2 separate regions of the Homo sapiens genome follow, and region 1 is linked to region 2. The links are contacts of gene promoters, found by promoter capture Hi-C in blood cells and fetal thymus (Javierre and others, 2016). All regions are on one chromosome and are shown on one strand. Each heading gives the region's core, a stretch centred on a gene start or on the middle of the fragment in contact. The rest is flanking DNA. Distances are from core to core; before and after follow the strand shown.

Region 1 (6,450 bases), core at 1,769-4,268, 530 kb after region 2:
ATGATTATATTATATGTATTATTATTAAATAATACATGATTATATTATATGTATTATTATTAAATAATACATGATTATATTATATGTATTATTTATATATGCATACATATTTAAATATGTATGTATATAAAATATATACATATATTTTAATACATATAATAATCTGTATTAAATAATACAGATTAATATATTAATACATATGTATTAAATAATATATTTCATTAAATAATACAAGAATTATTAAAATAATTCTTGATTACCTTCTTAACAATGAATAATATGGATATTATGGCATATAGAAATAACAAAATAAGTGAAACTACAGCCTTATCTAGTGTTCAGAACACCTTCAACATTATTCCTAACCCTCACCAAGCCTTTTCTACCCTTCTCTTATTAACACTCTTCTCAGCTAAAAAGGTTTTAACTAAAAGGATATGTACTTATTTCACCAATAAACACTTGATATTAACCAAAAAGTCATACACCCACCCTATCAGTAAGGACAATAAAGAATAGAGACTAATCAATCATGTTTGTATGTCAGATCCACCATCTTTTGAGTTTCCTTCCTTCCTTCCTTCCTTCCATCCTTCCAAGACGGAGTCTTACTCTGTCATCCAGGCTGAGGTGCAGTGGCACGATCTCGGCTTACTGCAACCTCCGCCTGCTGGGTTCAAGAGATTCTCCTGCCTCAGCTTCCCAAGTAGCTGGGATTACAGGCGAGCACGAGGGGTTTCGCCATGTTAGCCAAGCTGGTCTTGAACTCCTGACCTCAGGTAATCTGCCCTCCTTGGCCTCTCAAAGTGTTGGGATTACCGGCGTGAGCCACCGACCCCAGCCTTTTGAGTTCTTATTAACATCTATGTCTCCAGAAGCTCTTCAGCCTGCTCAAGTGTTAGTAGCCAAAGAAGCTTACCCGTGGGTAGAAACTGCAAATGTGCTAGTTAATTAGGTGATTTGTTTCCATGCCTTGTAAACAGTGCTCATTTGTCCTTCCTCTTGCCTCAGATTTATGCTCTTCAATCCTCTTCCCATTAGAGCCTCTTTCACCCTTTAAACTCAGATAGGATGACCATGACCATGGTCAATTCATTTCCTGCAGGTGATATTGTGTATGTGAGCATGTGTTTATTTAATCATAAAAATGTGGAATGAACTAGTCTGGAATACTTTTCTTAAGTTTTTTTCTGACAGAAGTAGTAGTATTTTAAAACATAAATAAAACTTCTTTTAAGTTTGCAGTTGGTATGTGGAGACAAGCAACATTAACTAAGATCAATTTATGGTGTTATTTCTCAACCAATTAGAAAGAGAATTTTCTAGTTCTAAGACATATTCCTATAGGAATATTCCTTACAGTTCTTCTGTTTAGTCAATAGAAAAAAAACACTTAAAGGTCCTCAAGCTATTATTCTTCCTAGTCTCGATTCATTTGGCAGCCCATTAAAATATAATTTCATGGTGAGATTTATAATAGTATAAATATATCCGTAGTTTTTATATTCTCTAAACTGTGATTTTCCCTTGCACTCTGCCCCTGAAAACTGTTTAAACTCTCTGTGAATACTTAGAAAATTTGTTCTTACATGGGTAAATGACTTCATAAGAGAGAAAACAGCTTGGTTGGAAACAATAGGGTAATTTTGGTTTGGGTTAATAATAAGAGAAACTTAAACTTCTAGAAAATTCAGGTCATTAATGATCCGAAGTATCACTAAAACATACTAGAGACTAATTTGTGTTCCACAAATCTGTATTCTTTCCAACAACTTCAGAGCTGGGATTGTATTTCTCCCTGGCCTCACAATGCGTCACCGTAGCCTTGACTACAACAGAGCCATTGATTCAGAATACAAAGAGAGAATAGGGACTGTCCCTGAACAAGAGATGCCCTGTGACTCTCCTGGACCTGAGCAAATTCAGACTTTACCATAAATTCTATGCTATTTTACATTCAATCTGACAGAGTTCCTTGCAGTAAATAATTCAAGATTCATCAATTTAAAGTACAGATTGTTTACCAAAAATATCAACTTATAAAAACAAGCCTTCGATGAGTTCAGCATATACTCTTTTATGTTGGATGACATGATGACACATTAGGTAACACAGAAAAATATTTTGATATGTATTTAGAAACTAAATAGAGATAAAAAAAAAAGACCCAGAAAATTAGAAACTAGGCATGAATTCCCACCATGTTTCTGAGTTTCATCTATTGGTTTTGCACTAGATTTTTTTTTTTTTTTTTTTTTTTTTTTTTTAGACAGAGTCTCACTCTGTCGCCCAGGCTGGAGTGCAGTGGCGCAATCTCAGCTCACTGCAAGTTGCACCTCCCGGGTTCATGCCATTCTCCTGCCTTAGCCTCCTGAGTAGGTGGGACTACAGGTGCCCGCCACCATGCCCGACTAATTTTTTGTATTTTTAGTAGAGATGGGGTTCACTGTGTTAGCCAGGATGGTCTCGATCTCCTGACCTTGTGATCCACCTGCCTCAGCCTCCCAAAGTGCTGGGATTACAGGCATGAGCCACCGCGCCCGGCTGTACTAGATTCTTTCATATTTATGGATTTCTAGGATCTGGAATTGAAAATCATTAAATACCATATTTTATTCTGAAATAAATATTAATGATCTTTTCAACAATATTATTACATCAAAAAGAATTTCTGATGTATACAGATATGCTAAGATAAATGTATATTGGTGTCTGCTCACTGTAAAATTCTTCATCTCTTTTTCAAACACCAATAGCCAGAAGTTGAGCTTGATGTCTTCATGTCATTTTATAAACCACTGTGATTATTATCTTTTATCATTACTAAATCTCCATTTTAGTAAAATCCGAATTCTCTGCCCTTCAAAAAGAAAAATGTTATACACGGAGCAGAAATCATTATATTACTGGCTAGAGCCTTAATAGTCTGGTTTCAGAAAAACAGACCAAGATGAATGCAGAACTCAGTAAAAGATTGGCTTGCACTTTCAATGACTCCTCATCACCCCTAGACAAAGGCTAAATGCTTGGGCATGGCGTTCAAGTACACCAGCAATTTGCACCCTGCTCCTTCAGCACATTCACTCCCACCAAGTGCTTTTAAATATAAAACACCCCAGATTGCTCATTTTTTTAAAATCCAACATTCACTCACTAAAAAAATAGTTGTTATGATGTCTTTAATATGTGTCAGGCACTTTTTCAGTACTAGAAATACATCAGTGAACAAAACAGGAAAAAAATGCCTGCTACTGTGAACCTTGATTTTTTTTTTTTTAAGACAGAGTTTCACTCTTGTTGCCCAGGCTGGAGTGCAATGGTGATCTCAGCTCACCACAACCTCCGCCTCCTGGGCTCAAGCAATTCTCCTGCTTCAGCCTCCCGAGTAGCTGGGATTACAGGCATGCACTATCACGCCCAGCTAATTTTGTATTTTTAGTAGAGACGGGGTTTCATCATGTTGGCTAGGATAGTCTCGATCTCTTGACCTCGTGATCCACCTGCCTTGGCCTCCCAAAGTGCTGGGATTATAGGCGTAAGCCACTGTGCCCGGCCGAAACTTACATTTTAATGGAGGAGAGAGAGAAAGAGAGAACAAGTAAATAAATGATTATAACATTCTTTTCAATCAGCACTTTTCTCTTAAAGCTATTTTTAAAAGATAATTATCCCCCAAATTCATAACTTTTATGTTTATATAAAATGAACACATTACAGATTTTATTCATTTAACTCAATCAATGAGGATACCAGGTAGGTGTCATTGCCATTTGAAAAGAGAATCTAAAGAACAGACTCATTTATAAATCAGGAGTATTTAAATGAATGTGAAAATAGAGGCAAACCTGATTTTTCCAAAAGGGTTGAGAGGTAGGGAAGTCAACTGAATCTTTACCAGAAAAATTGAATTTGCATATCTATGGACAAAATTTATTTGCATTTTAGCGGGTTGAATAATAGAAGCCCAATAACAGATGTCCACATCTTAATTCCTAGACCCTGTGAATGTTAACTCATTTGGAAAAATGCTTTTTGAAGCTGTAATTAGGTTAAGGATTTTAATTTGAAGAGATCATCCTCTATTACCAAGCTGAGGTCTGAATCCAATGACAAATATTTTTATAAGACACCCACAGTGGAGATTTGGCAGCAGACGTGGGGAAGGCAATGTGATCACAGAAGCAGGTGTTGGAGAGGTGCAGCCACAAGCCAAGGAATGCCTGGAGCCACCAGAAGCTGGAAGAGGCAAGAAATGGAAGCTCCCTTAGAGTCTTCAGAGGAAGTGGAGCTCTGATGACACCTTGATTTCAAACTTCTGGCTCCAGAACTATGACAGAATCAATTTCTATTGTTTTATGCCACAAAGTTACAGCAGCCTGTGGAAGCTAGCACACATTGCTATCAGTTACCCACAACTTACAGAACTGTAAAATAGCTCTCATAGAATCAGGTAGCCAGGAGGGGTAATCTGTAGATAATGTGTAGTTTCCATTGATGCACAATTTCCCCCTATGTACCTTAATAGCTTTTCCCAGACCTTCTCTACCTGTCAGAACTCTATGTATCCTTTAAAGCTAACTTCAAATGCCAGCAATGGCTGGTTGACTGAATGATGGACAGAGACAGGGTCTCACTCTCTTGCCCAGGCTGGAGTGTGGTGGCATGATCGTAGCTCCCTGAAGGCTTGAACCCCTGTGCTTAACTGATCCTCCCATTTCAACATCCCAAAACACACCTGGCTAATATATATATATATATGTATTTTAGAGAAAGGGTCTCACTATAATGCCCAAGCTGGTATTGAACTCCTAGCCTCAAATAATTCTCCTGTGTTGGCCTCCCAAACTGCTGGAATTACAGGTGTGAACTACCATGTCCAGCTTATTTATTAATTTCTATTACATATATATTGGTGCCTCCAACTAGGATGGAACGCCTTGTCAATAACTCCTTTTGGCATTTATGGCACACCCTCTACATGTGCTTCCCAGGATGCTGTAGTAACCTAGCAGGGCACCATACACATAGGAAGTACTCATGGAGTTGAGCTGGAGAGAGCTGTGACCTATGATGACCAAGGGGAAAACTGGATGACTTCTGGTAATAACTGAACTTTCTTTCTCCAAGCTTGGCATGCTGAAGCTTAGTGTTATAAAATGGATCTCATATCCAAAGATTCTGGTTCCATAAAAGTATTTGCCCCACATCTAGCTAAAGGTTAAAAAAAAATCAACATCTAAGATAGGATGTTAGAAGGGTGACTTAAGAATAACTTTCTCTGTATCTTTCTGAGGATTCATTGGCAGCAAACTAATGGGCCTTGCACTCATGATTTTTTTCCTTCCAACACGCATGCCAAGTGTTTTATATATGACTAGAGTCTTTAAAAAGGCCTCTGGAATCTTAATTCAAACTTGCTGTAGTTCACATATTTGCTCAAGCCTGGATTTCTAAGGGTCTACATCCATTCCAAGCATCAGTTCTTTAACAGTGTCAGTCCCATTGTCATAAATAAATCAATTAATTCTAATGGAAAAGGTGTGATTAATTTAAAATGTAACTATATGCTAAACTAGAGCTCAGGTAAGATTGGCTGAGCTCCTGAAAAGTGACAATAGCATCTTCTAGTTTCCATTTCTGGGTTCCACTTTGGATGCCAATTCTATTACAAGAATTTTAACATCAAGATCTTATCTGCCCATCATCTTTGCTGCACTTTCAGCTTCTCTACAACTCTGGGGTTTCTGGGAACTGCTGAGGATGTCTACATGCATCTTCAAATCATTTTGGAGCTGGGCTCACCTCTCATCACTAGTGATCAGTGCTTGGCTCTGCTGAGCTACCACAGTCTTATCAATGCTTCATTCCAGGCTGCCACTTGCCTATGCTGCCATTTTTGCTCAATGCTCAGCTCTGAGCCAAAGTTTGTCTGCTGCAATATGGTGGCTTATGCTGTCACTGCAGAGCCATCTAAACTTGTGGTTCCAGAACTACTTAGAAATTAGTTGCAAATGAAAAGCTGAAAGCCTTTCTCTCCTCCATTGCATCTATAAAAAAAAGAGTCCCACAACAGGACTCTGAGGAGCCACAGAATTACACTCAAATCTTTCATTCCATAGACACCTCTCCACCAGGCTGGTTTTAGGTAATGGCCTATATGTGGTGCTAAGGATGCTCATCAGTGCTCATCAGTGCTCATCAATGCTCAGGTCTTATTTATGCCATGGCTAAACTACTTCCCTTAGGATGACTTCTCTCCTAGGCTACCCCTTGAAATTTAAATGCTGCCTCTCCCCATCTCAGTCCTCTCATTTCTTAAGATAAGGCTATATATTCTTGAAACTCATTTGTAGACACAGTTCAACTTTTTTTCCCAGGAAACTCTTAGGTCCAATGTTGAATGGTGGTTGCAAATAGATGCCTGAGCAACAGAGGTCTTACCTTATTCTA
Region 2 (6,892 bases), core at 4,391-6,890:
TCAATAAGTGTTAGCTATTTTTATAGATCAGGAACTCAAATAATGTCAATTAAATACATGTGAATTTTCATCCAAGTTAGAGAACTAGGAAAGTCAACCTGTTATTTGACAATGGAAAATATTATATGTAATGACAATCATACCATTTATTCAACAAAGAAAATATGCCAGGATTGTATCTAGCATCTTCCAGACATTCATTCTCATCACGTTGTGGAGCTAGAATTCCCTTCGCCCCGTTCCGCCCAGTCCCCATTTACAAATAAAGCATGTGAAGTTCAGAGGGATTGCTTAGTTTGCTGAAGGTGATGCAGCAAGTAAGTGTTCGAGTCAGAGTATGAACTCAGGTCTGTCTTATTACAAAGTCGATTCCCATTTCACAATTCTATGGTTCTTGACTACAATAACAATAATCCTAATGGAGCAGCTAACAACATACCAGGAATCATGTTCATTCACAGGACCAATTCACACAAACTAGTCCATTTACCACGATCAGCAGCCCTGGGTACTCTTACTACATTTCACCTTTGGAAACTGAGCTTTGAGGAGGTGAAATAAGTATATAAGATCATGTAGTGAAGAAGCCCTCGAAGCTGAATCCAAACTATAAAACCTGGGCTCTTGGCCACTTGTGATGCTGCCTCACATCTTACCAAAGAAGGATATTGAGAGACTCAGAGTCCAAGAGGGAAGCCAGAGACAGGATTAAATGGTTTTATAGTCAGAAGAAGAAGTTTGGATCTTTCTGTAAAGGAAGTTGTCAGATGAATAAAAGCAAGGAGCTAGGCAACAGCGTGTTGTATCTGGGGACTTCTACAAGTCTCCTCATCTATAAAATAAATAGTTGGACCAGGTAACCTCCAAACTTCTTTTAATTCTACAATGATATATTGTTGTGGTTTGTATTATATCCTCCCAGCACATAATATACCTGTGCATAAGCCACTCCCTAGTGGCTTCCCTGCGCAACTAGTATAAAATCCTTTCTTGCTATCATTGTCTGCAAGGCTCTGCAGGCTGTAGCCCCTGACTGTCTCTGACTCCACTACTTGTCTTTTCTTCCTCAGTCACCATGCTTCAGTCACAAGCTTTTCTGTTCTAGAAACTTCCTTTCTCAGGGCCTTTATACTTGCTGTTTCCTCTGCCTGAAATGCCCTCCCCCAGATCTTTTTTTAGTGGTTCCTCAAATGTACTTCCTTCAATAGGTTTTCTATAACCACCGCATCTAAAGTAGGATTTCCTCACTCATTATTCTTTACCTCATTCCTGTTTTACTTTCCTCATACTAATTTTCAGTATTGGAAATTTACTTTTGTTGTTTATTTTGAGTCATTTATTGTACAGTACCCCCATCCATCCCCATGTAAACTCTGTGAGGGCAGGAGTCATGTTGATCTGGTTTATGGCTATAGCCTCTGTGCTGATGCCTGACACATAATAGCATTCAGAATGATTCATTGAGTGAATGGATGATGAGACAAGTTATCTTGTGTAGCTCACCTAGCACATAGAAAATATTAAGCACAAAATAGGAGCTGAGAAACATGTAACGGTAGTAATGATAACTGACATTGATCAAGCTCTAATTATTGGCACTAGGTTAAATCCTTCACACACTGTATCATCTTAGTCCTCACCACAACTCTGTGAGGTAAGTATTATTATTATCCTAGTTTTATAGATGAGGAAACTGAATCTTAGCACAATCAAGAAATTTGCCCAAAGTCACAAAGCTAGTAAATTAACCCAGATTCAAAACCAACCTAATTTCAGCACAATGTTATTTGCTAACTATAATCTGTAACAAAATTATTTACTAACTTCTGCAAAGTGAAACTGCCATTATCTCCATTTGGATTTTTCAAAGTTTATAATTTCAAGGAGTACTATGTGAGTAACTACTATATGTATCTTGGGACTCAGGCTAGGTAAAGGGTACTAGGTGCCTAAGATACAGAGATAAATAATGTGACACAGTACTCAACTTCAGGGGGCACAGTTTAGGAAGAAAAACATAAGCGTGGTAGAATGGACATCTCCATGACCCAAACACTCCTCTGTCCTCTCACAAAAAAAAACAAAACAAAACAAACAAAAAAACACCTCCTGCTGTGGAGACTCATTCCTCTTAAATGTTTCCCATGAACCTGGCCCAGGTGTTTAATTTTGCATTCCTTAAATTATATTCTAACTGTTTAGCACTGTCTAGGAGGGACTGAATAGCCATCATTTACTGAGTGCCTACACGTGACAGGTGATTTATCTATGCTCACTGACTGAATTCTTACAACAATGAGGTGAGTGTCATTATTCCTGCTTTACAAATGAGCAGTCAACAGCTTATTGGGGCATTGGATTATAACCCAATGATTACAATAGAGTGTCTGATTACAATGCAGAATTGCCAATATTAGGATAGAAGGATGTGTATGCAAAGACCTATGGGAGCCCCAAGAAACAAATGGCTCTTGGCCTTCATAGATATTTATTTATTTTTATTTTGTTTGAGACAGTGTCTTCCTGTTTCCCAGTCTGGAGTGCAGTCGCATGATCATGGCTCACTGCAGCCTCAACCTCCTGGGTTCCGATCTGCCGACCTTAGCCTCCTAAGCAGCTGGGACTACAGGGGCACACCACCATGCCTGGCTAACTTCTTATTTTTTGTAAAGATGGGGTTTTGCCATGTTGCCCAGGCTGGTCTTGAGCTCCTGACCTCAAGCGATCCGCCTGCCTTGGCCTCCCAAAGTGCTGGGATTACAGGCGGGAGCCACTGAGTCCAGCCCCAGATATCTACTTAAACACTATAATGGTAACAAATATGAGAATATCTGGCTTTTTATTAGCTTTTTAATTAAATATTTAATAAATAATGTGTATCTCACCTTGTAAAATATTTTAACAATATCTTTACATTTTTTGAGAAAAAGCAAATACTTTCACATTTTTACTAAGAATAATATGTTAGAAGCTTTTTTATTATAATAATTGGAACACAGACTTTAAGTTTTTTTACATTACATTTTCCTGATATACTGCCTGAATTTTTTTTTTTCTGGGGCAAAGAAAAGTACTTTTCTTAAGCTACTGTCAGTTCCTTTACTTAAGATTATTCTGAAATGAACCCATCCTTCCCTCTAATGGAAAGATAGGTACATAATAAGATAAGCACTTTTTTTATTTGAACAAATCCAGTATTAGAGTAGTCTTTTGCAGCTAGTGAATCATGACAGCCTGCTAAGAAGAATGCCTTCAGTAAAATAAAGTTAGGTTGGGACTGACCAACATGAATGCATAAAGTTAACTCCATTAAAAAAAATTGACCAGGAAAATAAAACAATGCTAAGCCAACCACTGTAATACCAAAAACGCTGCTAAAAAATTTAGATTGCTTCTGAGTAACCAAAGGTGAACCACTCTCCACCCTGTGGTGAACATGTGACACTCTCCCTAACAGCAGCTCTGTGGGGAGGGCTTGCTCCCACTGAGAATTAATTCACTTTCCAGAAGTGAGAGATAAGGAAAAATTCCCATGACAATAATCCATTTGGTGAACTGCAGTTTGGTGGTGTTTGAAGTTTTACGCATATTTAAGAATCAAACATGCTCTTACTTCATCCCTGTTAGGAAAGCCACAATCCAGTTTCACGGAAAATGAAAGACAAGGATTCCTGCTGATCAAATCGCCTGGCTCCCTCCACAGAATCCCGGGAAGCCACTCTACATTCACAAACTTTGCACTCAATTCTTGGCACCTATCAACGCCATATCTCCAGGGCCAAGTGAAGAGTCTCATAGCAACTAAGTTAATATTTGAAAATTATGTAAAGAAACAAAATTACATCAATGGGCCCCAACAGATACAATGCACCTACAGAGGCACAAATAAAAGCTTCTTCTTTGCTACAAACTCCATTTTGTAATGGTCCTAAAAATTTAAAAACTTTATTGCTGCTTTCTTGCCTAAGAATTCCCTGTGACATCAACCCAAAACCCACATAAGCAGAAGTACACAATTTTCTAGAATCTTAGAACAAGTAAGTCTAAACATGAATCATATTTGTTTGGATGAAATTGACTGAAATAAATAGTAAAGAGTGATTTTGAGATACATATTGCAAAAATGTCCACTAATAACTTATCCTTGTATTTATCTGTATATTTTCAAAGGTAAGTAATGTGATGTCAAGGCCGACACAATCACATTAAACTGTGTCCTGCTTCCCCAACTGTAACTCTAATACTATTGCCCTCAGAGATTGCAGAGACCACAGAACCGAACTCCTTCCCACAAACCCCCGGATTTTTCTGTGGCAAAATCCCTTGTAGGAAATGAATTCTCTCTATATCTCAAAACAGCCTCACTTACCCAGTAGGCCCTGTAAGCACAGTGTCTCAGGTCCACAATACTTTTAGATGCCCAGGAAAATGTTTCCTTTTAAAATAAGAACAAAAAAGAAAAAAATTAGGTGTTGGTTAAAGAAAATGTTTAAATATATAATATTAAGATATTTATCTTTATGTCAGTGTTGGTATAAATGCGTGTTTATGAAAAAGGGACCCACCAAGGTGAAATGCCGTAGGACCCACAAATGTCATAATGCTGGCTGGCCTCAAAATGTCCTTCCTATTAAACTATTTTGAATGATTCCTAGGTATGCCAGATGCCAATTTTTCTTGGCCAGCCAGGGAACGTCTCATGTCTTTGGAAGAAATTATCTTTCTCTTACTGGATTCTTCTGAGAAAAGTGATTTGTTAAAAGTTTTGGTTATTTCAAATCAATATGTACTCAACTAGGACGTCTCCTCACCCACGTTAATTTTTTAAAGAGGAGGAAAGTAGGAGAAGATGAGCGCTTCATGTAAGGCTCTGCCAGCCTACGAGGAAATGCAATCCTCCAGGCTCGCCCGAGCGTGGGCTGCGGGCAGGGGACTGTGGGGCCGTTGTCTCGTTTTATTCCACGGCCGTGCAGCAGAGGGCGCGTGCCTCTCAGCACTCATGCTGCGCGCTCCCCTGCGCCTCTAGGATCGTATCCCTATTTGCCCCAAGGTCATAGCTCCTAACCCAGCTTGCCAGCCCCAGGCCGGGGACACCAGAGACTGAGCCCTTCGCGCTGGAGACCCCGGCGCGGGTGGGGCGGGAGGGCTCCGGGGCCAAGAGACAGGTCACAATGGGGACAGGGGACGAAAGGCGCCGGGGGTCCGGGTCCCGAGCAGTCCCCGCCGCCGCCAGACTCCGCAGCCGGGAGGGGGATGGGGTGCGCGTAGAGGCTCCGCGGCCCGGGTTGGACGGAGGAGCCCAGGAGCCACCGCAGCCGCCGCACGCCCAGAGCTCCGAGCTTCGCTGCCAGCCCAGGACACCGGGGCCCTGCCGTGGGCCGAGGGGAGCCGGGCGGCGGGAGAGGAGCCCCGGAGCCCCGGAGCCCCGGAGCCCCGCCGGGCGCCAGCCGAGAGGGCGTTTTCCCCGCCCCCGGAGACTCGCCCGCCCGGCCCGCCCCGCCCCGAGCGCGGGGAGTTCACCTCCGCCCGTCACCACCTCCCCTTGTCGCCTAGGTCCACCCGAGCCCCCTCCCCCGGGCCGCCCCCGAGCACGAAGTTGGCGGGAGCCTATAAAAGCTGGTGCCGGCGCGACCCGCGGACACACAGTGCAGGCGCCCAAGCCGCCGCCGCCAGATCGGTGCCGATTCCTGCCCTGCCCCGACCGCCAGCGCGACCATGTCCCATCACTGGGGGTACGGCAAACACAACGGTGAGTGCCGGCGACGGCCAGCGCGGGGGCGCCCCGATCCCCGATCCCCGATCCCCGATCCCCGAGCCCGGATGCCGGCCCGGGGCCCGCAGCGCCCGCACATGCTGTTTACCGCGGCCGCGGGGAGTGCTGGAGGCTCAGGTGCGCCCCGGGCGCTCGCTCCGCTCGCGGCTCCGCGGCGCCGGGGATGTCCCCCTTGCCCCAGCTGCGAGGCCACTGTGGAGGAATCCCCGCGTCCGCCGGAGGCGCGTAGGGCCCGAGGGAGGGGAGGCGCAGCCCTGGCCGCGGGACCCGAGGACAGTCCCTCCCGGGTCCCGACCTGGGGATCATTTTAACCGGACCTAGGAGGAGGCGGGAAAGGGTTGTAACGGAAAATTCTAGTTGTTGATCGCAGAGAAATTAAGAGACTCCCCTCCCCCCTCCCCCACCTTCCACCCCCACCCCACCCCTCCAGCTTCAGCACCACCTGTGGCTAAGGCGCTCAGCACGAACTGTCCCGGGGCATTTTCCAGTGCTGGTTTGAATCCATGGCTCTGATTTCCGAGTTTTCCCTTCATCTCTCGACTTCTAATGTTAGGGGGTCGGACATCAGGAATCGGGTTTTATCTTGGCCTCAGATCTGGTTCTTCGGAGCCAGCGGAGCAGAGGAGCATGCGTCTGGCGCACCTAGCGCATCTTTGGAGGGTGTGGGGCTTCCCAGGTAGTGGGGAACCCTGACGGTTAAAGGTGGGGTGGGCCCGGGCCTGGGCAGTGAGGAAAGGATCCAGACCTCCTTGAATGTCTTAAGTGAGCTTGCATATCCCAAAATCGCAACCACAAGCCCTGACATTAGTGTCTGCCCGATTTCAGTTGCTGAATTTCAGTAAAACGACCTTAAAATAGCTAATATTTATATAGCACTCAGTGATCTAAGAGCTTTACATATATCGATTCTAATTCTTACAGCGACATCTATGAGGTAGATTTCTAATTATCCCATATTACAAATGTGGAAACTGAGGCACAGATTACGTGTTTTCCCAAAATTTAGCCCATTGTTAAGTGATGCTTCTAAAATTGGAACTGAGCAGATTGGCTCCGGAATGATTGCTCTTCTCTAGGGGTCTGGGTGTACCTTTCCCCACAATGGGGGATTCACATGTC

Evidence for each region. Contacts are between HindIII fragments. The CHiCAGO score rates a contact against its expected background, and 5 or more counts as called.
Region 1: a contact is called between a fragment that was not itself captured here and the fragment with the promoter of CA2 in region 2, in 17 of 17 cell types (endothelial precursors, megakaryocytes, neutrophils and 14 more). The highest score is 25.5, in endothelial precursors.

The regions. Positions count from the first base shown.
Region 1 is chr8:85,992,367-85,998,816 of GRCh38, forward strand. No RefSeq gene overlaps it. Among named protein-coding and RNA genes, the nearest start is that of PSKH2, 74 kb to the right of the region's middle. The HindIII fragment of the contact is 4,213 bases long and covers 913-5,125 here.
Region 2 is chr8:85,458,367-85,465,258 of GRCh38, forward strand. CA2 (carbonic anhydrase 2) reads left to right here and starts at 5,641. Exons shown (of 7, transcript NM_000067.3): 1 at 5,641-5,749. The coding sequence starts at 5,716. CA3-AS1 (CA3 antisense RNA 1) reads right to left here and starts at 6,549. Exons shown (of 3, transcript NR_121630.1): 1 at 6,216-6,549; 2 at 4,370-4,435. RefSeq lists enhancers at 3,154-3,849, 5,750-6,249 and silencers at 4,877-5,136, 5,207-5,526, 5,637-6,106. The HindIII fragment of the contact is 7,146 bases long and covers 3,891-6,892 here.